Regions from separate parts of the Homo sapiens genome. Here region 1 is linked to region 2. Evidence: promoter capture Hi-C in human tissues and cell types (Jung and others, 2019). All regions are on one chromosome and are shown on one strand. The core of a region is centred on a gene start or on the middle of the fragment in contact, and the rest is flanking DNA. Distances in the headings are between cores, read along the strand shown. Region 1 has its middle 61 kb from the start of DLGAP1. Region 2 holds the start of DLGAP1 (DLG associated protein 1).

Evidence for each region. Contacts are between HindIII fragments. The study calls those that stand out against the background at their distance.
Region 1: a fragment that was not itself captured here is called in contact with the fragment with the promoter of DLGAP1 in region 2 in 2 of the 25 tissues and cell types used here (H1 embryonic stem cells and heart left ventricle).

Annotation. Positions count from the first base shown.
Region 1 is chr18:4,513,182-4,520,290 of GRCh38, reverse strand. No RefSeq gene overlaps it. Among named protein-coding and RNA genes, the nearest start is that of DLGAP1, 61 kb to the right of the region's middle. The HindIII fragment of the contact is 4,730 bases long and covers 2,407-7,109 here.
Region 2 is chr18:4,449,217-4,456,639 of GRCh38, reverse strand. DLGAP1 (DLG associated protein 1) reads left to right here and starts at 1,333. Exons shown (of 13, transcript NM_004746.4): 1 at 1,333-1,634. RefSeq lists a silencer at 1,184-1,313. The HindIII fragment of the contact is 8,504 bases long and covers 1-7,423 here.

The sequences.
Region 1 (7,109 bases), core at 3,522-6,021, 60 kb before region 2:
AATTCCACGAACCTGCTCAGTGTACTCTCAGAAGGCTGTCAGCAAAGTCCTCTCTGATAAGGAAGTTTTCTTTCCTAATATGGGGACCATCGCTTTTATTTTGGTTTTTCTTTGCTTATTCAATATTTCTCACTTTTTAATTTTATTTTAATCTTATGTATTTATCCTCTTGAAATCACCAAAGGGTTTATTTTCTTTTTGCTGTTGATTCTGGAGGGAAGACAACTGACCTTCTTGTTAGCACTTATCTGATGCCTGACACAGCAAAGTCACTTCTCCCAGACATCTCTCTGATAGCCCTGGGCCAATCATTACAAACAGAACGATGCTGAAGTTTTATGTGCAAGACCATGAAAGTGGCTTATCATTCCAAAGAACTGATGTATGTTTTTAGACAATGAACAAAAAATCTGTTAAGCTTCTTGCAACTTCTTGAAGCTTTTACAGTTATAATTATTTGCTTAAAACTTACTGCCAAGAAAAGCTTTTGATTATAATTTACTAAAGTTATCTTCTTATAATGAGATTTTATTCTCTGTGTTGTTACAAAAAGAAAAAGAGCAATATTGGTGCTCCAAATAGCTGTAGAGGGAAAAAGTACAAAGAGCAACAGGAAATACAAATTGACATGAGAAAAATAAAAAGTAAGATGTTTTATTGCCTTGAGGGATTTCTAGTGTGCTGGAAAAAACAGATACAAATAGATTGAAATAATTAGAGTATATTCACATGTGGACCATAGCAGAGATGGACATGGTTTGGAGGTTCAGAGAATGAGCATGATCCTAGACATCTAGATTCATAATTCTGTTCCACTAATAATTTAGCATCGTAGCCTTATGTAAGTTTATTAATCTCTCTAAGCCTTGATTTCCTCATCTGTAAAATTAGGTTATTAATCGACTTTACCTCACAGGAAATGTATGAGGATTAAATGAGACAACATATGTGCCTGTTGCATGACAAATGTTCAATGCTTGATAACTACTATTATAATTTATAAAAGTCTAAAAGAAGACAGAGAAGTTTCTAGTCATTCCAAGAAAGGAAAACTGAGGCACAAGAGTGGGCCACAAGGGAGATCCTTGTGCTGATTTCAAGGCAGAAGGTGAGCATCAGCCATTTTGTAGTTCCCACACATTGTTGCCAGTGTGCTGACTCACCTCGTTGGCAAGAAGTAGCAGCTGAACCTAAATTGTTTTCACCTTTCCTTGGAGCCTCCTTTAGCATTTCTGACTCCTGGGCTTCAATTTAACTTCATGACAACAGGCATAGCTTCTGCAGGATACATTTGGCATCAAGGGCAGAGGCAAGAAGATAATGCTCAATCCTTCCAGATGGGTTTCTGGCTCATGCTTATGGAATCCATCCTGCCTTTGGTCTTCCTCATTTTACGTCTATTTTCCTTTCCGTCTGCACACCCTGTGAACTTCAAGATCCATGACTATATGAGGAGAGAGCAGCCTTACGGAGACTGCTTAACCACCTCCCACAATTGTGTAAGTCAATTCCCCCAATCCCCTGTAACAAATTTCTCTCTCTCTCTGGCTGTCTCTCTCTCTTTCTGTCACACATACACACACACATACACCCCTGCCCCTACTGATTCTTTTCTCTGGCTGAACCCTGACTAATACATGGCCTTTTCTACCGCTGTTGCGATTTTTCCTTATGAGGAAGTGCTCAATGGTCTTATTTTGCATTGCATACATACATCATGTCCAGAACAAAAACGTAAAAATATCCCCATCAGTATTTCCAAATACAACAACAAATTTGTGACTACAATGATAGTGAAAATACATTATATACATTTATTTCAGAACTTTATCACTTCATATCACAATCTATGAAATAAATGAAAATGTAAACATGAGTGAATGAATGAATGAATGAATGAAATATTTGAAAGTAGAACTGACTGACCAGTTGAAATAATTTCTTTAGGAGCAAGGTTGCAGTATTAGTATTTCTACCACAACAAATGTTACTTGTAGTATTAAATGGGCAAATCAGTCAGAAGATTGTTTATCAAGGACAGCCCATGTATTTTCTAATTCCTTTTGTAAGCATTAAAAGTTTTTACAGACTGACCAAACAAAAGATCAAAATAGGACACAACAGCAATACTGTTTAAATCAGACTCTTTCTTTTCTATTTCTAACAGGAGAGCCTTTGACATTAAAGAAGATCAGCAGAGTCTGAAACAAAGGAAAAGCTCAGTTAAAAAATCATAAGTAAATGATTGTCTCTCTGAAATATATACTTCATGTAGAGAAACTATTCTTGGTTCTCATAATTTTCTTTTTCTCCCACTCATGATTTGCGGTACTGCACTGGTGTCCATGGCAACATCCATAGCTAATGAGTGGATTACTACCAGTGTCCTGCCACTGTCAATCGCTACATTCTTAAAGACAAGGAAATTTCTCTCTAATTGAGTGGTTTTATTACCCTGTCTCTCCCAATAAGCAAGACCTGAATCTTCACCAAGAATACATGACATCAACACAAGATTATCTATTGCTTTATCTATTTTACCACATTGGAAAGTTTAGTCAAGATGATAACATTTATTCACAAACACTTGGACAGATTGAAAAATCTCCTTGTTCTCTTTATGTAATGAACAAGAAAATAGTAGATTAACATATGTCAAATTATTCATAGAAGGCACTGTGCCTTATGTACCATTTGATGAGTAGTTCTCAATTTTTTTCTATTAAATGACTATAACAATAAGAGCAGAAATCAGTAATAAAACATAATTTAAGAGAACGCATCCAAGTTTATGCCAGCTAAATGCGGACTACTTTTGACTTTGATAATAGTGCAAGGAAGTTAGGCAGTGCTAGAGCTAGAGTGTTTTTACACACAATGCTTTTCATGACTGATCTTGAAATCACCTTGGTTAGTCATGGTCAGCCTTCTTTTATGACACAAAAGAAAATAGAATGGAACAGACGAATCAGAATGCATCATGGTGTGGTAAGAGTTATTTTGTGAAACATGTAAATTGAAATGTAAAATGTATTTTTCACCATTGTCCTTTTCTCACACAATACTGAAGGAATAGTATCAAACTTTCTCTAGATTCTGTTCCTTTTAAATTTTGTCCTGTGAGATTATAGTCTGGTTACTACCTGAATATGCATGTGTTTTGACTTTTCTCTAGTGGCTTAGAGTCTAAATCTATTCTTCTAAAGGAGTCAGAGTTCTTCATAACCACCAAACTCCCTGTATTCATTTCCTAGGGATGCCATAAAAATTACCACAAACTAAGTGGCTTGAAACAATATAAACTTAAATTCTTTCAGTTCTGAAGTCAATAGGTCCAAAATCAAGGTGTCAGGAGGGCCATCCTCTCTCTCCTAGCTTCTGCGGTTGCCAGCAATTCTTGGTGTTAGATCTGCATAACTCCAATCTGCATCTGCGTAACTCCAATCTCTATGATGTCATGCCTGTCTGCCCTCTGTGTCTTCACATGGCATTTTCCTCTCCATGTGTGTGTCTCTTCTCCTCTTAGTCCAATCTGGAAGTGTCTTTGTTGAGATGACTAATTGGATCTGTGAGTCACATGCCTAATCTCTTCATATATATATATATATTTTGTTTGTTTGTTTGTTTTGTTTTATTTTTGTTTTGAGATGGAATCTCGCTCTATCGCCCAGGCTGGAGTGCAGTGGCACGATCTCGGCTTATTGCAAGGTCCGCCTCCCGGGTTCATGCCATTCTCCTGCCTCAGCCTCCCAAGTAGCTGGGACTACAGGCACCTGCCGCTATGCCTGACTAATTTTTTGTATTTTTAGTAGAGACAGGGTTTCACCATGTTAGCCAGGATGGTCTCGATCTCCTGACCTCATGATCCACCTGTCTCGGCCTCCCAAAGTGCTGGGATTACAGGTGTGAGCCACCGTGCCCGGCCCACCAAAATATTTTACAGAAATTCATTGGCCCTGTTTCCAGAGCAAGTTACATGGAGAGATTGAAAATTTTCAAATAATCAAGCTCTGGTTTCTTTTTGCTTAAGAGTTTGTCAATTTATTTTCTTTTGCATTTTACTGTATGTGGCAAGAAGAAACAAGGTCACATCTTTCACACATTGCTTGGAAATCTCAGCAATATATCCAAGTTCATCATCTAAAGTTATATTTTACACCCAACAGCAGAAGACAATTAGCCAAGTCTCTACCATCTTATAATGAGGATCATCTTTGCTCTGCTTTCCTTGTTTCCATCTGATGCCTTGCAAGAATCGCCTTTAACGTTCATATTTCTAGCAACATTCTGTTCATGTTGACATATGTACTCTCTAAGATAAAAGAAGCTTTGTCATTTCTGAGCATTCACCAAAATTGCCTTTAACATTTGTATTTCTACCAACGATCTCTTTAAGGCTAAGTTTTTCTAACATATACCATAAAATTCTTCCTGCTGCTATCCATTATCCAATTCCAGAGCTACTATCACATTTTTTAAGCATTTATTACAGCAGCATCCCACTCCTGGTAATAAAATTTGTATTATTTTCCTTGGGCTGACATAAGCAAAGTATTACAAATTGTGTGGCTTAGAAAATAACAGAAATTGTTGTTTTTGTTGCAGGGTTGGTTCCCCCTGAGGAAGAATCTGTCCCTTAGGTTCTGCAAATCTTTTATACACCTTTGCTTATAGATACATCATTCTAATCTATGCCTCCACCCTCCATGATGTGCTCCCCTGTGTGTCTGTGTCTGCATCATGGTGTTCTCTCCTGATCATGGTGTTCTCTCCTGATAAGGACACCAGTAATGTTGGATTCAGACACATTTTAATGAAACATGAGCTCATCTTAATTTGATTACATCTGCAAAGATCCCTCTTCCAAGTAAGATCACACTCAGGGGTAGCAGAGTTTAAGCCTTTAACATATCTTTCTGGGGGACACAATATGACCCACAAAACCCTCATATAAATTTTGGCTAATTCATTAGGCTTTTCCAGATTTCTCACTATTCATTTCTGGTACCATTTCTCTATCTTTTAACAAATGTATATTCTGGTTGGACTATGACTAGGTTGTAAGCCCTCAGATATGTAGACTGTGTTTTACTCATTTTTTATCCACCACAGTATTTGGCAGTATTTGGGACATTGCTATGCAAAGTAGAAAAATCAATAAATATATTGAAATGAATTGAACTGAATTATATTGAATATTGGTTCTCTATCCAAGAAAAGGTGATCCAATTTTAAAAATTTATGATGTGCTTGAAAAGGCAATAAATCTAAAGATAAATGTATTCTATACCGAAATACCATATTCACCCTATTAAAATCAATAAAGAGAACAAGATGGCACCATGGGAATATAATTTTGGGCAATACTTAAGCTTCTCAGGTATTCTTATTATCATATATAAACAAAATAACATTAATGTTATTGGTGAAGTATCTTTAGGCCCTAGAATGTTATAGTCAAATAGAACTACATTCTTTAACTCTTCACATACATTCATGAACATATATTCTAATCCAGATATTTTTCTAGGTTCTGGGAATGCCAGTCAAGAAACTACAGTGCCTGGACTCAGAATGGTAGTGACACAAGTGACAAGTAGTCATATTCTAGATATATTTTAAAGAAACTGTCAACAGAACCTGCTAAGAAATGGAAGTGGAGTTTCACAGATAGGGAGGACTCAAGATAACTCCATAGACTGTGGCCCAGTAACTAAAATAATGAATTTATACTATCCTGAGATGGGGTAAGCTGGGGGAGAAGGGGAAATTTTAGTGATTTTTTAAACATGTTATTACACAGATGCTTCATAGACATTCAAATGAATATGTCAAGTAAGGAGATGGATATGGGTCTGAATCTCAGGAAACAGGTATAAGTACATGTGGGACTCACAAGCATATAGGAGATATTTATCAACACAGGAATGAATGAGATGATCTGGAGAAGATGATGAATGTATATGATGAGAGGAGGTTCAAAACTAAACCTAGGGGCATCATACTACATGGAAATAAAAATGATCCAATGAAGGAGACTAAACAACAGTAACAAGTGAAGTAAGAGGGAAATCAAGAAAAGGTAATGTTCCAGAAGCCAAATGAAGAAAGCGTTTTAACCAGTCAATTGACACTGATAGGTTAAGAAAAATCAATTCCTAGCATTAGCCATTAGATTTGGTAATTAAGCTAAGTTTCTAACTAAAATTAGTGTAGAAAATAAAACAAAATACCTTTTTTTAAAAGTCTAAGGAATAATTGCAAAAACTCATAACCGAAAAGACAATGTCACAATAAATATTATTACAATAAAAGAAGAGAAAATAACATGTAGAGATTTTTAAAAGTAAGAAAAATTATGAATATTTACTATTTCAATATATTTAACATTTTCAGATGAAATAGATCATTCCCTAGAGGAAAAGTAAATTACTCCAACTAATTCAAGAAGAAATAAGAAACCTTAATCAATATCCAAGCATTAAGCTAATTCCAAATGTAACCAAATTTCTTTCTTTTCACTCAAATTATGCACTCTCATACCTTACCCATACTCATACACACACAGTCCAAACTTTAAAAAGAACTAAAAGGAAATTATTATAGAAAATATAGTAAGAGAAAAAGCCACTCAATTAATTACAAAATAATAATGCAAACTTGATGCAAATACCAGGAAGCCATTATTTTTAAAAAGTGAGTGTAGATCCAAAAATACTGAATGAACTATTAGCTAATTTGAATTTATCAGTGAGTATAAAAATACTGTATTATTATCAAATCTAACTTATTCTAGAAATTTAAAAGTATTCAGAATTAGAAAAATAGTTACTATAATATAACTTACCTCATTATCAAATTAAAGTGAAAAATCAAACATTTCTCCTAAGGCATACAAAGAAGACATTCAGAAAATGTCAATATTGAATATGGTTTATAAAACACAAAAAATGTACAAGAAAAATTTAATATCTCATTAAAAATGACACCACAACCAAAAGGAATTTATGAAGTGAAGGATAGTTCAATATTTCAAAATGGATTAATTTATCATATCAATACACGTAAATGGAAAAAAATGCAACATGATTATCTTTATGGATGTTTAA
Region 2 (7,423 bases), core at 84-2,583:
AAATCACTCAGTGAAATTGCAGGAAAGAGGTTATTTATCTGAGTCATATTTTTATGAAAACTGTTTTTCACTTCCTTGCATTTTTAGAAGTGTTGTCTTTAAAAGGATATTCTATTAATATTTATAATTAGACATCACACAAAACAGATGCTAAATCTTATGCTATAACTTCTGGATAAAATTACATAAAGATTATGTACTTTTTGGCATAATATTCCCTCAGGAAGCTGTAGAACAAAGGACATTCTCCATGAAGATGCCATTTCTTTTTTTAATAGAAGGAAATAATAAGGCAGTGATTAACCACGATTATTTTAACTACTGTAACGTTTGCAATTAAGTGGGCAGCGCAGGAGCTCAATAAATACTTAATTGATTTACTTTTTTCTCTCCTTGACCCACATCGCAATTCACCCACTCACGCCGCTATCCCTATTCTAACTTTGAAACCAAGTGGATTCTCTCTGTTTTCAGTTTGTGGAAGCGTGGTGCTCAGCCTGTGTGGAGGGGCCTGGCTTCCAAGTGTACTTGGGGTGGAACCTGGGGACTTTACCGAGGGCACAGGTCAGGAGATGAGATTCGTTTCGCTTTTTGAATTACCTTTTGGCCTGTACCAAGATGAACTGGTGGGATATATAGTGTCATCGAACCCGGGAGAGTTGTTGTGGAGGTGAGGAAACAGCTCTGAGGGATAACGGTTTGAAAGTAGTGGCGCTGGGGACGAACATGGGTCCCTGCGAGTCTGAGACTCTCTATTGCCCCCATCTCCTTGCTGCCGATTACTTCTTCAAAAATTCTCCTAGGGACCCTGAGGAGGGACGGGAGAGGTCAGCAAACCCTCTGTCCACCAACTTGATTTCCTGTGATACAAAGTGTCATGAGTTCTCCTGCTTTCCTCCCTTAAAAAAGACAAGATTAGGAACAACGGCTGGCAAGAGAGGAGGGGAAAGCTTAATTCTCCACAGATGCTGCGCAAGGGAACCAATGGGTCACGCCCACTCACGGGTGGCCGCCTCTCTGTTCCATCCCGGGGATGTTGGGCTTTCCCCTCGGTCCGGGGCGAGCGCACTTCCCACCCGGAGACTGAGCGGGCAGCACTCGCAGGCCAGGAGCGCGTTCCGGGAGGCGCCGGCGCCTCCCCGCGGCCTGGGCGCACGTGCCTGGGCTGGGGCCGGAGCCCGCGGTCGCGCCGCGCCGTAGTAGCTGGGGCGGGTGGGAGCGGCTGGCTCCGGGCCGCGGCCGCCGCCCGCCCGCCGGCTCCGGTGGTTGGGCGGAGGAAGCGCGGGACTCCTCCTCCCCACCGTATTAACATGCACCCAGGGGCGGGTCACCAGCCCAGCCTTGCAGCCCCAGCCCGCCGCGTCCCGGCGCTCAGCCTCCGCTCCAGAGGCGAGCGCTGCGCTTCGGGCGCCGCAATCTCCAGGACACGGCCTCGCGGACACCTTCCGCCTCGGGGAATCGGCAGCATAGGCGGCGCGAACGGCCGCCGCCGCCTCGGCTCCTCTCTCGAGTCCTTCCCGTCACCTCGCTGAGAGCCGGTCCTGGTCGCGGGGACATCTCTCTCCTTCCTCCGAGGCTCGTGGGACCAACGGACGGACGCAGCCAGCGAGGGCCGGACTGCGGGACGCGGCCAGGTAACGCCGGGCTGCGCCGCGGGGCTGGGGCGTGCGCGGCGGCGGCGGTCGCGGCGCGCTGGGTGGCTCCTGGCTGCTGCCTGCCGCGCGGTCGCCGCTTCCCTCGCCCGCGGAGGGGCTGCGGGCTGGGCTCCCCCGGCCGCTGGCTCGAGAGTCCGCGCTCCTTACCCTTTCAGCCGCCCGGGGTGCACTCCCGGGCCCTCCGGGTAACCTGGGATCTCGGGGGCGAGCGCGTCCTCTCCGGCCATGCGGTCCTCGCGGCTCCCCACGGGGACCCAGGCAGGGGAAGGATTTCTAATTGCGACAGGGTCCCGGAAGGGGGAGGGGAGGAGAACACCGGTCCCCTGTCCCGGTCATGTCCACCGGTCAAATTCGCACCCCCACCCCACCCCCGATGCACCTTGCAGGGGAGGAGGGGGCTGCTCCCCGCAGGGCTTTCTCGGCAGGCTCCTGGGTCGTTTGCAAAGCAAGTTGTTGCACTAGCTTTTTGGGTGACATTTTGGCATTGTGGAAAAGGACCAACTCCCCCGTGCGTTTGTAAGAGAAAGCCAAAGAAACAGAGACACAAAGACAGGCACAGAGAGAGAGAGAGAGAGAGAAATGGGGTCCAAGGAGGAGGTCACTGGAGAGTCGCCCCCTGCCCGCGGCCAAGGCCAATTCCCGGAGAATCGCGGGGCGGGCCGGGAGACCCGACATTCAGCGAATTGAATGAGCCGGGCTGGAACCAAGGCCAAACAGGGACCTCTCCTCTGGGCTGGGCGAGATAACACATTGCACTTTCATTGAGGGGCGGCTGCAGCTGGGAGAGGCACCTTCGGAGGGCCCGCGGCGATGAAGACCCTGCTTTCAGGACTTCGGCTGCTGCGCTTTTTGCGGAAGGCGCGCTGTCCCGGCCTCGCTGGGTGGCACCGGGAGGCCGTGGGAAGGGGTGGCCCGTGGCTCGGCTGCCGGCGCCGGAGACACTGAGTGCCTGTGTCCGAGTGCCGCGCTCGCCCCCGGCTGCAGGGCTTGCCTCCAGCCCGACCGTAGCGCTGCGGAATTTTCTGCTAGAGAAGGGGAGGATGTGCGGAGGGCAAGGGGTTAAAGGTAGCCAGGCGGCAAGCAGTGGGACGCTGGGTGGGAGATGTCACGTCTTTTGTGGATCCAGGCGAGACTCTTCACTCCTTACTCCTGACACAGAGACTGACTCCCGGTCGTGGGAGGTGAATGCTCCCTGCCTCCTTCCATAACACGTGAAGTTAGGGAATTACGAGGAAAGACATATAATAAAAGTACCAATTAAAGACAGATCTTTTAGCTTTTGTGGTCTTCGTGAATGGCTTCGTAGAAGGTGAGGATAGATCAGTCTAAGATGTGGTTAGACATGGAGATGAGAAATGCTGAGAACTAGGAAAGCGATTTTAGGTCCTAAGGCAAACATCCTGCAAATTATTTTTTACCCTGAAAGAGCTGTTCTAAAAAGAACAGCCCTTTGACTGTTATTTATAGCACGATTTCAGTTCAGGAAACGACTTTCTATTGGCCTAGGTCATTTTGCATATAAAGCAATACTTTTTATTCCTTGAATAAAACTTGAACGGAAATGACATGGAGGCAAGAAATTTTACAAGATCCTAATTTATTTCATGCCAGAAGAATATAAAGTTTTCTTTAAGTTTTTAAAAGGAAATTCAAGCCTATAAAGAAATAATGAATATGTCTATGCAAAATGTATGATTTTAAAAAGTTTAAGTTATAAACGCTACCCTTGGTTCAGAAAATTCATACTCTGGCATGAAACAAGAAAGTTCATAGAAGTCAGGTGTCAGTAGCCCTGTTCTTAATTTCCTTTAGATTTAGTACTTAAATGTAAAGTTGTTTCAGTTGGTTAGTGCCTTGCAATACCCCTAGTCGCAGATATAAAATTCTGTGAATTTTTAAAAAACTAATTTACTTAAGAGAAAATGTTAGTTACCTTGTGTGAGTAAAGAAGAATGTACTTGCATACATAGATTTTTTTAAATTTATAGCTATCTATTTCTCTATATTTCATTCTAAGATTAGTCTGCAAATACAATACTTTATCTCAAACATTACAGGCAATATAAATATGGGCAAAAGGAACTGGTTAACATTCTTTTAAATATGTCAAAATAATTTTCTGACAAGGCTTCTTAAATCTCACACAAGCAATTGTGCTTTGGGGAAATAATGAGTATATGAGTTTTCCCTAGGAGGGAATTTTCATGGTTTAGCATCTTTAATTTCTCCATCAACATAAGCTTTGTTCTGCCAGGACTAAAAACCCAGTAAAAGCATATTAGCGATTAGTGAAAGCAAATGGAGACAAGACCTTCCTTCCAAAATATTATGTAGCGCATATAGAGAAATAGCCTAAAACTAATTGTAGTGTTCTACTTTTTAAATCCTTCTAAGCTTAAGTGTCCTATTCAACCCAATTTGGGAATAGAAACTGCATGCACTTTGAGTTAACTCTATTAAATATGTGTGCCTTTGTTCCATATAGCCATTTAGATTGATTTTTTTTAAATATAAAATTAAAACTTGGAAGAGGGGGACTTGTTTTACAAAGTACTCATTTTAGTGAATATGAGCAATATTCACTAATATGCAGCAAAGTAATAGTTTCATCTACAACTTAATCGAGATGAATACCATATTCTTTGAACATCAACTCTTTCAGAAACAAAGAATTCAGTGTTTTGATTCTGATCTCGTAATATTTCAAATTCAGAGATAATAGTAAAATGTTATCTAATGTGTATTTCTATAGTGAAATTTCTATGATCAGCTCAAATTCATGTTACCTTCATGACCATTCCCACAAATTGCTCCACTGTTTATCAGAGGAGAGGAAATTGGTTTCCTCTCAGGAAGCATCCAATTAAAATCTACTTTTATGTAGATTTCATCTCTATAGAAATCACACTTACCTCTCTTTTCTTAAATTAAGAAAATGATACAATTTTAGGTTATTTTGTTTATTTTCTCTTTTTCCATTGGTAATTATATTTCCCCTGGTACAGGAACACCATTGAAATAAGAAGGCTAAAAAGACTCTTGAAAAACCTAAACACGTTTCCCCAATCCTCACTTCTCATAGTTATAATCTATGCCTATGTCTGTGGTATGTTGGTCTTTTGTACATTTTTTTTATTTTAAAGAAACACTATCACAAAAAGATACTTTGCTAGCATTGTAGAAAAATCTTTATGTTGTTGTTGAAACACCTGAATGTTCAAAAACATCCCATATCTTGAGCTGTTTTATTTCCTAAGATCCTAAGTGCTACTAGTTCTCTATTTTCAGAGAGGAATAACTACAGTGTCCCTCAAAAGATGTTTTTTCTTTCTTTTTTCCGAAGCATGAGAATTTGTAGCTCGATTCTTGTTACTGCCCGATGAAGGTGACTTTCTCTAGTTGTGTGGTCTATCAGGAATTGCCAAAGATGCTGTTCCTAGGAAGATCTAAAACATTGCATTACCACAGAGGAGGATTTAGAAATAGTCTTCTGACATTCATTTTAATCTATTAGACACCCACAGATAACCGATTGTATGAGATACCAGGTACCAGTTCTTTTGCTTCTAAGATGTAACTATTTAGCTTATACAATGCTGTATACTGTATATTTGCTACACCTTTCCCTGTAACCCTGCCAAACACACACCTACAGAGCAAAACATGTGATTGAGAACAAGAAAAAAATGAGGTGTGATTATAAGGCAGTTAAAAAGGTGAATGACATCCCTTTGAGGTCTTCTGTTCTTTAGTCTGATTGTACAGAGGTTGGTATTGCACAGGAGCCGTGTTGACCCAACCATTTCCCATCCTTCTCTCTAGTAAATGGTAGGGGACAGATAGCTGTTGTATAAGTGAGAAACAGGGTTATCTTCATCCATTATTGACTTAAGATTTTTCCTGGTTGCTTTATTATTTTCTCCCTCCTATAGGAGTTAATGATTACTGGGCAGCAAGTAACATCCCACTTAGGAAAACCAGCTCATGCAAAAGGAAGCCCTGTGGATCTATATCCACAGATATTTGGCTCAGATCCTTGGACTTTTTCTTGGATAGACAACCAGCATAGCTGGGATGTGATTGTCCCACTGGATATCTAATTGTGAACTAGATATCAGTGTTCTGAATATGTTATGAAGATGCAAACCACCTTCCTCCCTCTCCCTAGGATTTGCCAGCAACCAAACTGTTCATTTTCATATTCACTTATCATGGTTTGCTCATCTGTTGCCATTGACAATTTCTCTGTCTTCTCTCAATGTTTTCTTATCAGATTTGTAAGCAACAGCACAACAGCAAACCACAAAGTGTGTGATTTGGAACTGCTCAATCTTGCCAGGTTTTCTTAATATTCAGCAGAGTTGTGGTCTTACTGAAGCCATGGATAAGCATTTGGATGAGGAGACATTGTGCTGTGACTTGCTTATCTCCCTAGCCTTGCATCTGAATCTCTGCACTAGGAGGGCTCAGAGACATTTAAATGGCTCCCTCAGGCGGCTTGTGGGAAGGTCTCTCTGGGCACATTTCCAGCTTTGCTGCTTTACTCTGGTGACACGGTTTTAGCTAATTTGAAAACATCTGCTAGAGTAACTTGCTGTTTTAATTCTACTACTGGAGAACATCTGAGTATGTGATAGGAGGACTGGCACTAACCCTCATTCTAACCTCATGATTACACCCTTTCCCTGGATACCCCTTCTTTCTTGGTTTCAATTTCAGTAGAAATCAGTGTGGAGTCTATTTCTGGACTGCAAATTTCCCTGCTAGATATCACTAAGATTTCTTTACAAAACACATGCTGCAGTTTCAGAGGAAAATGGCATTTTGATCTTGTCTCAGACTTTGCAAACAACCATTCTTTGATATGATTCATCATACTATACTAGCAAAAAGACAAGGCACATTCACTCTCTTCAAAGCTATTTTCGTGTAGACATTAACCCAGAAGGCAAAGTCACCTTTTCATCCTTTCAAATTAGGATGTGCTTTCCGTTTAGAGTTTGGGAGGGTCAGCAGGGGAATCTTGAAGTGGTAATGCATTTGGAAGTCTTTCCTGTGAATCCTTGCCTAGGTAGTTCAGATAAGACTCACTTGATTCTAGAGCTTCTATGGAGCAGGCTAAGAAATCTTTCCCCCTCTCCTTGGAATGCTGTTTCTTACATTGTTCCCTCTTTCCTGGACTTCAGCTGAAAAGTCATTTAATCAGGGAAGGTCTCCAGCTGAATGCTGTTTTAGCACTTTATTCCTTTTTCATGGTCCTTTTACGGTCAATAATGATGTGTTGACTTGTGAGTGTCAGATTGCTTTCCCCACTGAACTGTGCATTCCGTGAGATCAAGAACTAAATATAGAATGTTCACCAAATATCACTGATGCCTAGCACAGCACCTGGCACTTAATAAATGGTGGGTAAACATTGGTTGAGTGAATGAATAAACAAGTGAATGCACATCTGTATTCTTAGTGCATAAGGGCCATAACTCTGAGGATGGTGTTACACAGCTTTTGCATGGCACTTCTTTGCAATGTCAGATGCTGTGTTCTTTGGTCCTAAGTTTACTCTGTTAATACCTGGTAAACACTGAGCTGATCCCAGCCTGAATATAAGGTGATGGGCTACGCAGTGCTACATTTCCCAACTAGGCAACATGCACTCTGCTGGCAAGCAGAGGTAAGGTTTTGAAATACAATAAGGATTTTAAAAAGGAAGCAAAGAAAAAACAAACTCCTGTTCCCTCTTCTTCCTCCTCCTTCTTATTCAAAATTAA